Regions from separate parts of the Homo sapiens genome. Here regions 2, 3 and 4 are each linked to region 1. The links are contacts of gene promoters, found by promoter capture Hi-C in blood cells and fetal thymus (Javierre and others, 2016). All regions are on one chromosome and are shown on one strand. The core of a region is centred on a gene start or on the middle of the fragment in contact, and the rest is flanking DNA. Distances in the headings are between cores, read along the strand shown.

The links. Contacts are between HindIII fragments. The CHiCAGO score rates a contact against its expected background, and 5 or more counts as called.
Region 2: a contact is called between the fragment with the promoter of ARHGEF17 here and the fragment with the promoter of ARAP1-AS2 in region 1, in 1 of 17 cell types (neutrophils). The highest score is 5.9, in neutrophils.
Region 3: a contact is called between a fragment that was not itself captured here and the fragment with the promoter of ARAP1-AS2 in region 1, in 1 of 17 cell types (neutrophils). The highest score is 7.1, in neutrophils.
Region 4: a contact is called between a fragment that was not itself captured here and the fragment with the promoter of ARAP1-AS2 in region 1, in 1 of 17 cell types (endothelial precursors). The highest score is 5.3, in endothelial precursors.

Annotation. Positions count from the first base shown.
Region 1 is chr11:72,698,962-72,701,879 of GRCh38, reverse strand. It overlaps ARAP1-AS2 (ARAP1 antisense RNA 2), which reads right to left and starts at 1,406. Exons shown (of 2, transcript NR_146780.1): 1 at 1,327-1,406. ARAP1 (ArfGAP with RhoGAP domain, ankyrin repeat and PH domain 1) reads left to right here. Exons shown (of 35, transcript NM_001040118.3): 16 at 97-231; 17 at 2,328-2,463; 18 at 2,773-2,875. RefSeq lists a silencer at 761-860. The HindIII fragment of the contact is 37,247 bases long and covers 1-2,918 here.
Region 2 is chr11:73,306,768-73,309,685 of GRCh38, reverse strand. It overlaps ARHGEF17 (Rho guanine nucleotide exchange factor 17), which reads right to left and starts at 1,410. Exons shown (of 21, transcript NM_014786.4): 1 at 1-1,410. The coding sequence starts at 1,047. ARHGEF17-AS1 (ARHGEF17 antisense RNA 1) reads left to right here and starts at 325. Exons shown (of 3, transcript NR_147696.1): 1 at 325-1,014; 2 at 1,122-1,804; 3 at 2,130-2,175. RefSeq lists enhancers at 1-415, 421-1,298 and silencers at 719-938, 1,169-1,498, 1,899-2,038. The HindIII fragment of the contact is 10,810 bases long and covers 1-2,918 here.
Region 3 is chr11:73,284,520-73,287,437 of GRCh38, reverse strand. The region is part of intron 1 of P2RY6 (pyrimidinergic receptor P2Y6); the gene reads right to left. Among named protein-coding and RNA genes, the nearest start is that of P2RY6, 14 kb to the right of the region's middle. The HindIII fragment of the contact is 4,518 bases long and covers 1-2,918 here.
Region 4 is chr11:73,259,852-73,262,769 of GRCh38, reverse strand. No RefSeq gene overlaps it. Among named protein-coding and RNA genes, the nearest start is that of P2RY6, 11 kb to the left of the region's middle. The HindIII fragment of the contact is 428 bases long and covers 1,339-1,766 here.

The DNA of each region.
Region 1 (2,918 bases), core at 157-2,656:
GAAAGTGAGCCTGAATGCCCAGGCCAGGTGGGAGTGAGGTGGGGACACCCTCTTGGGTGGCCAGCATGACCTGCCATCCTTTCCCCGCCTACAAAGAGGTGCCTCGGCTGGACTCGATGAAGCCCCTGGAAAAGCACTACTCAGTTGTCCTGCCGACCGTGAGCCACAGTGGCTTCCTCTACAAGACTGCCTCTGCCGGCAAGCTGCTACAGGACCGCCGGGCCCGGGAAGGTGGGTGCCACCCCAGACTCTGCTTTAGCCCATGGCATCTGGTCACGGCTGCAGGGCTAGGGAAGCCAGGGCTGGCCAGACTGGTGGACTCTGGCAGAGTCACCCTAGAGGGCTTCCTGGATATAGTCTGTGGTACACAGTAGGTACTTCCTAAATGATCCTGGTGGGAGTGGGGGTAGTGCATGACACTGCAGAGCAGGTCAGTGCCAGAGTTTCTTTGGACTAAATGAGCCTTTATTGAGCCCCTACTGGATATGGGCTCTGCTGAGCATCTGGTAGTAAGAGCCTGTGGCTGGTAGGGAGTTTGAGGACTGAACGAAAGCCCTATCCATCTGATCTCAGCCTTCCATTCACTCCCCAACTCAGAAGAAAATCCACAAGAGCCCGCACAGTTGGCCACCACCCCCATTACCTCTCTGAACCACCCCCCTAATCACTCTGCCGGTCTCCTCACTGTTTCTCAGACACGTCGTCACCTACCAGGATCTTTGCCTGTGCTGTTCCCTCTGCCTGAAATGCATTCCCCCAGGTATCTGCATGGCCAGTCCCTCACTTCCGTCAGGTCTCTGTTTCAGTATCACTCCTGCAGAGATGTCATCTCTGACTACCTTATGCAAAATAGCACCCCCCATCTCTCCCTTTACCCTTTTGAGATGGAGTTTCGCTCTTGTTGCCCAGGCTGGAGTGCAATGGCGCGATCTTGGCTCACCGCAACCTCTGCCTCCCGGGTTCAAGCAATTCTCCTGCCTCAGCCTCCCGAGTAGCTGGGATTACAGGCATGCGCCATCATGCCTGGCTAATTTAGTTAGTAGAGATGGGGTTTCACCATGTTGGTCAGGTTGGTCTCAAACTCCCGACCTCAGGTGATCTGCCCGCCTTGGCCTCCCAAAGTACTGGGATTACAGGCGTGAGTCACCACGCCTGGCTACCCTGCATTTTCTTCACACCACTTACCTGGTACTCATTTGTCCATTAATGTACTTATCTATAGATTCTCTGTACCCCACTGGGACATAAACTCCTTTTGGCCACCACTGCCTGTAGCCCCCAGATCCTAGAACAGTGGCTAGCACACAGTGGGCACTTGGCAAATACCTGCAGAATGAAGGATGACTCAGGCAGAGCTGGTGCTCCTGGAGGGAGCCCACCTGCGGGGACAGGCCTGAGGACACATTGCTCTCAAAGAGCACATGTCAGGCCCTCACAGACAGGATGAGAGACAGAGTCTGCTGTGGGAACATTGTGAGGTCATTGCTGACAACATCCCTCAGCACCTCCTGCATGCTTTCCTACGGGGACAAAGCCCTCCAACTCCCAAAGAGATTTCTTTGGAACTCCATGCTGTTCACAACCTCATTGCCCCAGGTCTGCCTCCCTCTGCCTGACAATGTCATTTATGTAACAACTGCCTGAGTCATCCTTTTTGCCCTGGATGCCAGGAAGCTCTGAGCCACTGTAAAGCTCAGTGCTGTGAACGGTACAAGCCTGCATGGCCATGACAGCCTATCCTTTCCATTACCTTTCCTGGTCCAGATTCCCATTTCTGTTTCTTTTATGGGACCTTGCCAGTCCTTCAGAGCCATTGTAGCAGGAGGCAGAGTACAGAGTGATAGATGCTTCTGGAAAAGGAGGTTGGGGCATAGAAGGCTTCCTGTGACATTCAGGTGGTGGGTAGAGGGGACAAGGTTTGCAAAAGCTGGGAGTGCTGGGTAGGGATGTGTGTGTCCAGGAGTGACAGAGAGGCAGCTGGAGAGACGGGCAGGGGTAGACCTGGCAGGGCCTTGAATGGCAGGCTGAGGGGCACAGAGTCTGTCCTGAGGACCATGGAATGGTTTTGGTTAGAGGAAGGATGGGGTCTGATTTTAGCTAGATCACTCTGGGATTTTGGAAGGGGCTGCTGCAGAGGCCTGGGGGAGCGGATGACTTGTGGGCTGGCTAGCGTGGTGGGGATGCAGAGAGGTGGATGGATTTAGGGAAAACTTGAGAGAATGAAGAGCTCATGGGTCAGATGGGAGCAGGAGCCCCGGGAGGATGCAGAGGTGGTTTTCAGGTGGTGGGGGGCTCCCTGATGGCTCCCCTGCCCAAATTCTCCCCAGAGTTCAGCCGGCGCTGGTGTGTCCTTGGTGACGGGGTCCTGAGCTACTTTGAGAATGAGCGGGCAGTGACCCCCAATGGAGAGATTCGGGCCAGCGAGATTGTGTGCCTGGCAGTGCCCCCTCCTGACACCCATGGGTGAGTACTCCTGGGCAAATCAGACTGTGGTTGCTATAAGGTACAATCCCCCACTGGGGAGACAGGGAAATAGACCCAGAGAAGGGGAGGACCTCCGCAGAGTCACACAGCAAACGGAGGCTGCACAAGGGCCGACTCCAGTCTCTTGAGGCCCCAGCCCAAGACTTTTCCACCACCTCTTAGGGGACCAGAATAAGGACAAGCGCCAAGGCAGTGCGGAGGGGGCAGAGGATGGCGGTTGATGGTGCGGGTTGGGGGTGGGCCCGTGCTGGATGAGGTGGGCCTGAGTCCTGGCCTGTGTATTTGCAGCTTTGAGCACACCTTTGAGGTGTACACGGAGGGAGAACGGCTGTACCTGTTTGGGCTGGAGAGTGCGGAGCAGGCTCATGAGTGGGTCAAGTGTATTGCTAAGGTGAGCCTGGGGTAGCAGGGTGGGTGTAAGGGTGTCTGACTGG
Region 2 (2,918 bases), core at 161-2,660, 610 kb before region 1:
CGGAGAGCCACTACCCCACTCCCGGAGTCCTTCTTCTCTAGGGGCTCTTGGAGATGTTGGGGGCTCAGGGCTCCCAGAAACCCCTGCTGAGTTCATGCTGCTTAGATTTAACCCATCACTGTCAGGCCTGCAGTCCTGATCCAATAGGGAGCTTCCAGGCCTGAGCCCGGGCCTCCCTCCCCAGCGGTGGCCGCCCTCACCGTCTCGGTCGTCGTCACTGCCCGAGGAGTGGCCGCCGTGGTAGGCCGGACTCTGGGCTCCAGGCAGCTGCGGCGGGCCCTCCTCTTCCTCCTCGCTGGAGCTGGCAGCACGACTGCGGCTGACAGGATAGGAGGCGGCGATGGAGGAGGAGGAGCAGGAGGCCCGGGCCCCGGCCTGCGGTTGGGAGAAGATATGCCAAGAATGTAAACCATCCGCTGGACGCTGCGCCCGCTCCTGTTGCTGCTGCGGCCGGCGCAGCCTCCCTTCGGTCTCCGGCCCGGTCAGGGGCCGCGCCGAACGCAGACCCGCCAGGGGGAAGCATGTCCGAGGGGGTGGCGTCGGTGGCTGCCGCGACTCCCGAGCCGGAGGCTCCCACGCGGCACCGTCGGGGCTGGGCGTTCCTGGGGATTCAGAGTCGGCGCTGGGCCTCCTGGAGCCAGGACCGCCGAAGAGCTTGCGCATCTCGGTGACGCTGGGCCAGGCTCCTCGCGCTGGGCCCTCGGCCGCTTCTTCCGCGGCCGCGGGTAAGACGCCTCCGTCTCGGGTCCCAGCGGAGCCGTCGTCCAGACGCGGCGCGTCGAAGCGCCGGGAGAGCTGGCGAACCGACGGCGAGAGGCTGCGGAGCGGGCGCGGCTGCGCGGGGGCGGCCAGGGGCCCAGACGCCAGCTTGGACACGCGCCGAGAGGGCTGGCCCCGGGCAGCCGTGGTCGGCCGGCACGAGGCGCGTCGCCTCAAGCCGGGGGTGTCCGTGTCCTCCTCCCTCAGCCCGGGGCCGCCGCTCCAGCGCTCCAGCAGCTTGAACGAGACGCTGCGGTAAAGCTGGGGCCGGGGTGCCCCGTCCGCCATAGTGGCGTAACTCACTCCGGGGGGGCTGGCCTCGGGCAGCCGCGGCCAACCCCCCCTGCGCCCCCACTCCCTAGGAGCGCAGCGGCCCACGCCGAAAGCAGCGCACGGGAGTGTGGGAAGAGGACGCAGAGACCGGAGCAGAGGTTTCTCTGCCGCGGCTCAAGTTTCTGTGGCCACCGGCCGCAACGTCTCCATCCCGGGCGGCCCCTCCCGCCTCAGCGCCGACCCCCAGGCCCAGCCCCCGCCGCGGCTGGAGCGACCAGGGGCACCGCGGCACCGCCTGGGCGGGATCCCAGCGCTTGGTTCCTCGACTCTGCGTCCGCCTGCCCAACGCCCTTGGCTGCTCGCTCCTGGCACCCTTTTGTTGCAAATAAACTTTGCGGCAGAGGCAAGGGGGCGGGGGGCGGGGCCTCGCGCCCAAAAGAGGGGGTGGGCTCCGGGCGTGCGCGAGCCTGGGAACCGCGTGGTGGGAGGGAATCAGGGAGGAGCCGAAGAAGAAAAAGCCTGCTGGAGGACTTGCAGACTGAGGCGACCCTCTGGCCCTCCAGAGAGGTCCCTCGGGAGCCCAGCAGGCCGAGCTGCCCCCAGGGAGTCGCTGAGACACACACAACCGCTGAGCGTGCTCAGCTCCGCAGACTCGCAGCCAGGGCGCCGCGTCCACCGCGGGCCACCAGCCTCCGCGCGGAAACACCTCCTGCCCAGGGGCTCCAACATGGCAACCTCGGACTCACAAACTCTCGTACACACTGACACTCAGGTGCACGCAGACGCACACTCTCTGGGCCGGGAAAGGGGTGGGACTCGGCGCCAGGGAGAGCCCGGGGAGCCGCGGGCTAACTGAAGGGTCCGTCGCGCCCTACTCCCCGCCCAGGCCACGCCTCCTCCCCTTCCCTCCCCCTCCCCGCCCGCCCTCTGCGGCGAATTTAGCTGTAGCCACGCCCTTGTCCCCCCATCTCGCTCCCAAGCGCCCCGCCCATCCCACCTCCCAGCCGCCTGTCCGGCTCCGACCGGCCCCCAACCCGCCCAGCGTTGCTCCAGAAGTCCCACCCTTCACGACCGCGCCCCCACCCCTACTTTTCCAGCTGCCACGCCTTCCACCTGCCCCTGCAGTCTGGCGGCTCTTCTCCTGGACTCTCCGCCTGGATCCCCGAGCCTTTTCTTCTTGCTCTGGAGTACGCGGCTCTTGCGCCCCCTCGCGGCGTGATTTTCCCAACGCACGGAGTCCTGGACGGATAAAGCAGCACCCATCCCCCAAAAACGGAGAGTTGTGAAAACTTCCTTTCAGTCGTTACCTAATCCCCTTAGTCTTTTTCAGACCTTCGCAAAGCGCACTGCCCCTTCTTAGGCCTTATACACAAAAGGAGCTTCGACGGGAACGCCCTCGACTTCCCACTGCCAAACCTATACTCTTACCCGCAGCTGCTTCACCTTCTTGGCAGGAAAAGTGTCGGTTGTTTCTCTGGCTTCACGCTGATCCCTCGCTTGAGCTCCCCTCCCGCCCCTGCCTCCGTCTGAGTCTCACATTGTTCTCGGTATTGGGGCATCATCCCCTTCCGCATTCCCACCTGCCTCTAGATCCCATTCATCCTCCCGGCCCAACTAACGAATGAACGAACGAATGAAAATGTATGGAGTACCTATAATGTATGGGCAATATTATTTAACTTATTTTTTAAAATCCACAAACCACCCTTGGGGACAAATATTATTACCCCTTCTCTGTGGACCGTGAAGGAGAAGTAACTTTGACCACTATGCAAGTCAGGAAATAGCAGCTCCTGCTAAAATTCAGATTTCAGGGGCTTCAAACACCATGCTCCTCCAGCCAGCTCTGAGATGCACCCCCAAATCCTGATGAAGAAGGAGGTTCT
Region 3 (2,918 bases), core at 153-2,652, 590 kb before region 1:
CTTGGGGATCTGGGAGTGATGGGTCTGTGATCTAAGCCTACCAATGAGAGAAGAGTGGGCCCCTCAGGCCTGTAACTGGCTCAGGGTGGAGGAGTGACCTTCACTGCATGCCTCAGAGTCAATTCTGGCGCTTTTACTGGGGCATCAGGAAGGAGACAGGTCTTCCACAATATTTGCAAAGTTAGTAGAAAGTGAGGCAGGAGCTGCTGGAGCCAAGTGAACTAAGTTCCAGGCATTGTCCTGGGCGACGGAGATACTGCCACCAGGGAGGAGACTATCCACATAGAAAGCCAAGGAATGGCAGAGATGAGAGATGGGGATGCATCGTTTCCTGAGAACAGCATTGAGTGCCTGGTTTCAGCTGTGCCTGAGGTTTTACCTTTGGTGTCATGAGCTGATAAACTCCCTTTTTGCCTCAATCCATTTAACCTAGGATTCTGTCACTTGAAACTAGGAGTCCTGCCTGTAGATCTGCACCTTGTGCCCAGGAAGACAGGTGACATTTCCCTACGAGAAAACTGAGGCCAGAGAGGTTAGGAACTTGCCCAAAGTGCACTATAAATCCACCATGATACCCTGTCTCTCAGGAAGAGTGGCTTAAGAAAGGACAAAGAAATGGAGGTCAAGAGTCAGGGCAGAGAAGAAGACCAGTCGAAGGGGCGGTGTCAGACTCCCTCCCTTTCCTTCTCTAACTCTGCTAGGAACAGGGGACAAGGTCTGCTTTGCCTCTGGAGCCTCAGAGACCAGTATAGGCTTTGGCCCAAGAGGCACTGGGAAATGTTGGATGACTGGATCCAGTCTATAAAGATGAGCGCCGGGGCTCTGTCCTCGGTGCTGCCTGGTTCCATTTTTTTTTTTTTTTTAAATCTTTGTCTTGACTGATGACAGAGAAGATTTGTCAAGGAGAATGAAGGTAATGGGTTCAGGAGTAGCACCTCTGAGACTGCTTGGGTCCCCCAGTCCCCACCTCAGGAAAGGCAGACCACTAACCCCGCCAAGTGGTTATTGTGGGTTATGATCCTGCCCATTTCCCAGGCAGACCCTGAGGCCCGAAGGTAGGCAGTTTTGTCCACAACTCGTACAGGTAAGGTTTGGGTGTGGAAGGGGAGCCTCAGGGAACTCCTCCCCTCCCGTGAAAGGCAGCCCCTGCCTTGATTCCTGTTCTGATCATCCCTAGCTCTTCCTGGGGCCTGAGCCCACCTGGCAGTGATAAGACGTCCAGCTGGACCCAGGGGTCAATGACAGGCCTCTGAGTTCTGGACCCTCAGGGCTAGGGAGGCCTTAAGGTCACCTGACCCAGAGGTCTCCCCATCATCCCCTCAGAGAAGGGGGCTCTCTGAAGCCTCCCTGACTGGGCTTGTTTGGCCCCTGCCTGCATACTTCCCATTGCAGGGAGCTCACTCCTCTCCTAGGCCACTGCATTCCACCTTGAGAAAGCTCACTGGGAGATATGCTTTGTCACACCAAGCCCCAAGATCTGTCCCTAGTGACTGCTCTCCCACACCAGTCCAGCTTGCCTCTGGGGCCATATAGCTTGGCTGCCCCAGGACACCCTGCAGAGGTTGTCCCAAGACCATCCATCTATTGGTCTTCATTCTCACCAGGCAATTTCAGGCACATGTCCAGGTCCCAGGAGACCTAGTGGTGGATCCTCAAGGATGAGGCCGTGGTCTGTGGCTGTTTTCAAACCTGAAGACAAAACCCTTTGCTACCCTCTGTCCTGTTTCATTGCCTGCCTGGGGCCTGTAAGGGGGGCATAGTCTCTTCTTTTGGGAGGAGGAAACTAAGGCCCCCAACAGCTTAGTTACTTGCCAGGGCCACCAATCCGTCAGTGATCTTCCAATCAGCAGGACTGCCTGTCGCCAAACCCCAAATCTTCACCCTCAAACTGGCCTGTTTGTGGCCAGTCCAGTGTGGGAGGAAGAGGACTTTGTGGGTGTCCAAGGGGTGGCCTGGGAGGAAGAGATCAAAGTAAGGGGCAACTACCTCATTCAGAGTGCAATGTAGGAGGTCAGCAGGCAACAGTGGCTCCTGCTGTGGAGTGTGCATGAAGAACACAGGACAGGCCGGGTGTGGTGGCTCACGCCTGGAATCTCAGCACTTTGGGAGGCCAAGGCGGGAGGATCACTTGAGCCCAGAAGTTCGAGACCAGGCTGGGCAACATAGAGAAAGCCTGTCTCTACCAAAAAATGTTTAAAAATTAACTGGATGTGTTGGCGTGTGCCTGTAACCCCAGCTACTTGGGAGGCTGAGGTGGGAAAATCGCTTGAGCCTGGGAGGCCAAGGCTGCAGTGAGCTATGATCACACCACTGCATTCCAGCCTTGGCTACAGAGCGAGACCCTGTCTCAAAAAAGGGACGTAGGACAGACCCCCTCAGGTGGTCACTCGAATGATACCTTCTCCATGGGACCTTCTCCTACCACTCTAAGCTAAAATTATAAACCCCTACGCAACGCATGTGCATGTGTGATTCCTACGCCCCTTCTCTGCTATATTTTTCTCCTTAGCATTTAAAATCTTTTAATACACTGTTCTACTTATTTATTGGTTATTGTCTCTCTCTCATGACTGAACATAAACTCCACCAGGGCAGGGGTTTTCGTGTTTTTTTTTCACTGCTGCATGTACTTAGGACGGTGTCTGGCATATAGTAGGTTCTCAATAAATATTTGTTGAGTGAATGAACAAATAAATTCCAGACGTGGTTCAATTATGTCTACACAGAGAGGACTGGGTGCACGGGGGTCTTGGCTTGAGGCTATTCATGTAGCAAGCTGTAGTTTGTACTTAAGAGTATGTGTTTATTGGGGATTGGGAGCAGATAGAGATTAAACGTGAGCACCAAAGGCCTTTAAGCCAGCCCTGGGGCTGCTTCTGCCTGGCCGTGTGTGTGAGATTTGGGCTGTGAACAGTCCC
Region 4 (2,918 bases), core at 303-2,802, 560 kb before region 1:
AAACAAAGAAAATTGTAAAGGAAAATATTAATAAGCTCAGAGTAATAAAAAGTTATGTTTGTACAAAAACACTAAAAAAGGAAAAAAGCAAGAAGACAGACTACCGACTGGAGATTATTGCAATGCATGTAACAAAGGATTATTATCCAGTATATAAAAATAACTCCTATACGTCAATAGGAAAAAGCTAAACAACCTAACAGAAAAATGATTGAAAGACATGAACAGGCATTTCACAGAAAAGAAAGCAATTATGGCCAATACACATAAGAAAATATGTTCAACCTGACTATCAACCAGGGAAATCTAAATTAAAACCAAATGAAATGATACCATTTCATGCATATCTGATTATCAAACTTTTTAAAGTTTGATAATTGGTTTGGTTGAAACCAATTCCATTCCTCCATTGCCCTAGACACACTTCTACATGTGGCCAGAGGGTACCCTACTGGACAGCAGATATAGGATATTTCCGTCATCACAGGAAGTTCTAAAGCATTTAAAACACTGACTACTTCATTATCTAACACTGAATGTGCTGCGTTTTCTCACATACAGAAGTGCTCCTGATTCTGCTGATTCTACTCAATTAAAACAAAATTGGCTTGGCTTCAACCAATAATTGGTTATTCAGCAAACGTTGAAACCAATTATTTGGTTGAAACCAAACGCACTTTGTTTGAATTGGCAGGAATTTTTACATACTGCTGGGAACACAACCAAGTTGAAGAACAATCTGTCAATATCTAGGAAAAGTGAAAATGCATAGCTTAAAACTGAACCATTCCACTTCAAGGCATATAATCAGGAGAAACCCCTGCACATGTATAAAGATGTACATCACAGCACTGTATCTTTTTATTTTTATTTATTTATTTATTTATTTATTTTTTGAGATGGAGTCTGTCTCTGTTGCCCAGGCTGGAGTGCAGTGGCATGATCTCGGCTCACTGCAACCTCCGCCTCCTGGGTTGAAGTGATTCTCCTGCCTCAGCCTCCCAAGTAGCTGGGATTACAGGTGCCCACCACCACGTCGGCTAATTTTTGTATTTTTAGTAGAGACGGGGTTTCACCATGTTGGCCAGGCTAGTCTCAAACTCCTGACCTCAGGCGATCCACCCGCTTCAGCCTCCTAAAGTGCTGAGATTACAGGCGTTAGCCACCATGCCAGCCTCTTCCCTTCATTATTAAGTATAGTTGTCTTCTAAGAAAGTGGAAAGGCCTGAGAAGAAAGTAGTTGAGCCTGAAAGACCTAGAAAAGCCTATTTATTATTAGAAGAAAATGTGGATGTAACAAAGCTCATTGGGAGGGCTGGACAGTGAAAGATGTAAGCTTGGCTTATGTGAGAGATGTGAGACTCATCCTCACCCACCATATGTGGGAGCGCTTCTGTGAGTGAGAAAATGCAGCACATTCATTATTAGATAATGAAGTAGTCAGTATTTTAAATGCTTTAGAACTTTTGGTGATGATGGAAATATCCTATATCTGCTGTCCAGTAGGGTAGCCTCTGGCCACATGTAGAAATGTGTCTAGGGCAACGGAGGAATGGAATTTTTAACTCCAAATTAATTTACGTTTAAATGTAAATAGCCTTATGTGACTAACAGATATCATATTTGATAGTGTAGTTTTATACTGTGCAGAAATCATTGCTGAGTGTTAATAGTTTTAAAAATTTTAATGGCATTTGGGGAAAATTAGGGTCTTAGGATGAGCTGGTGACACATTTTTCCTTTTTAAATTTCTGGGAATATAAGCTTTCACTATTCACAAATTTGTTATCAGAAATAAATTATATTCTTTTTTTTTTTTTTTGTCAGAGTCTCGCTCTGTCACCAGGCTGGAGTGCAGTGGCACAATCTCGGCTCACTGCAACCTCTGCCTCCTGGATTCAAGCGATTCTCCTGCCTCAGCCTCCCAAGTAGCTGGAACTGCAGGCACGCGCCACCGTGCCCAGCTAATTTTTGTATTTTTAGTAGAGATGGGGTTTCACCATGTTGGCCAGGATGGTCTTGATCTCTTGACCTCGTGATCCACCTGCCTTGGCCTCCCAAAGTGCTGGGATTATAGGAATGAATTATATTCTAACAGTAAAAGTGACTGTATGTTCTTAAATGGAATACTATATAGCAGACAAAAAATAAACTTGAGCAACCACATCAAGAAGGCTAAAATCACACAAGCATAATGTGACCAAAAAAGAAATATATAGGATACACACAGTATGAGACTATGCACATAAAGTTTTAATTATTGTATATTTCTATACAATAATGTAGAAATCATACAAAGGCATGTGTAAGAATGACCACCAGGGTAGAGGTCACCTTTGAGGAAAAGGAAGGGGTGAGATTGTGTGGGATCTATGCTGCTTTCTATTTCCCTCCTGACTCCCCAGCTCCCTAGCACACTCTGCAAAGACAAAGAGGATGGGCAGGGCCAGCACACAGAGGAGCCACCTCCCCTCCAAAGCCTTCTCTGGCTACCTCTCTGCCAGTCAGGGCTGAGGCCTCCTCTGGGCTCCCAAGTCCAAGTGTTGGCCTTTGTAACACCCTGATCACTCTGGCCTGGTGTTGTTTTTCTTCACACTTCTCCTCCACCAGCCAAGGAGTTTTTCCAGGGCATAATTCTTTGGAGATTTAAAGTCATCATCATCACTCATTTATTCTCTGACACCTGCTATGTGCCTAGGCCCGGGGAAGAAAAAAGATGAGTTGTTCATGGCTAGTGTCCTTCAGAAATGCCCAGTGTGGAGGAGAACAGACCAGAACCTGGTGGGCATTGGGCCAGAGAGACATGAAGATACATAGGAGCTCTGAGGGACCCCCAGCCCACCCAGCCCTAGAGCAGGGAGAACAGGGGTGGTTAAGGCACAAGTTGTGTCTTAGGCTGTGTTCAAGAACAACTAGAA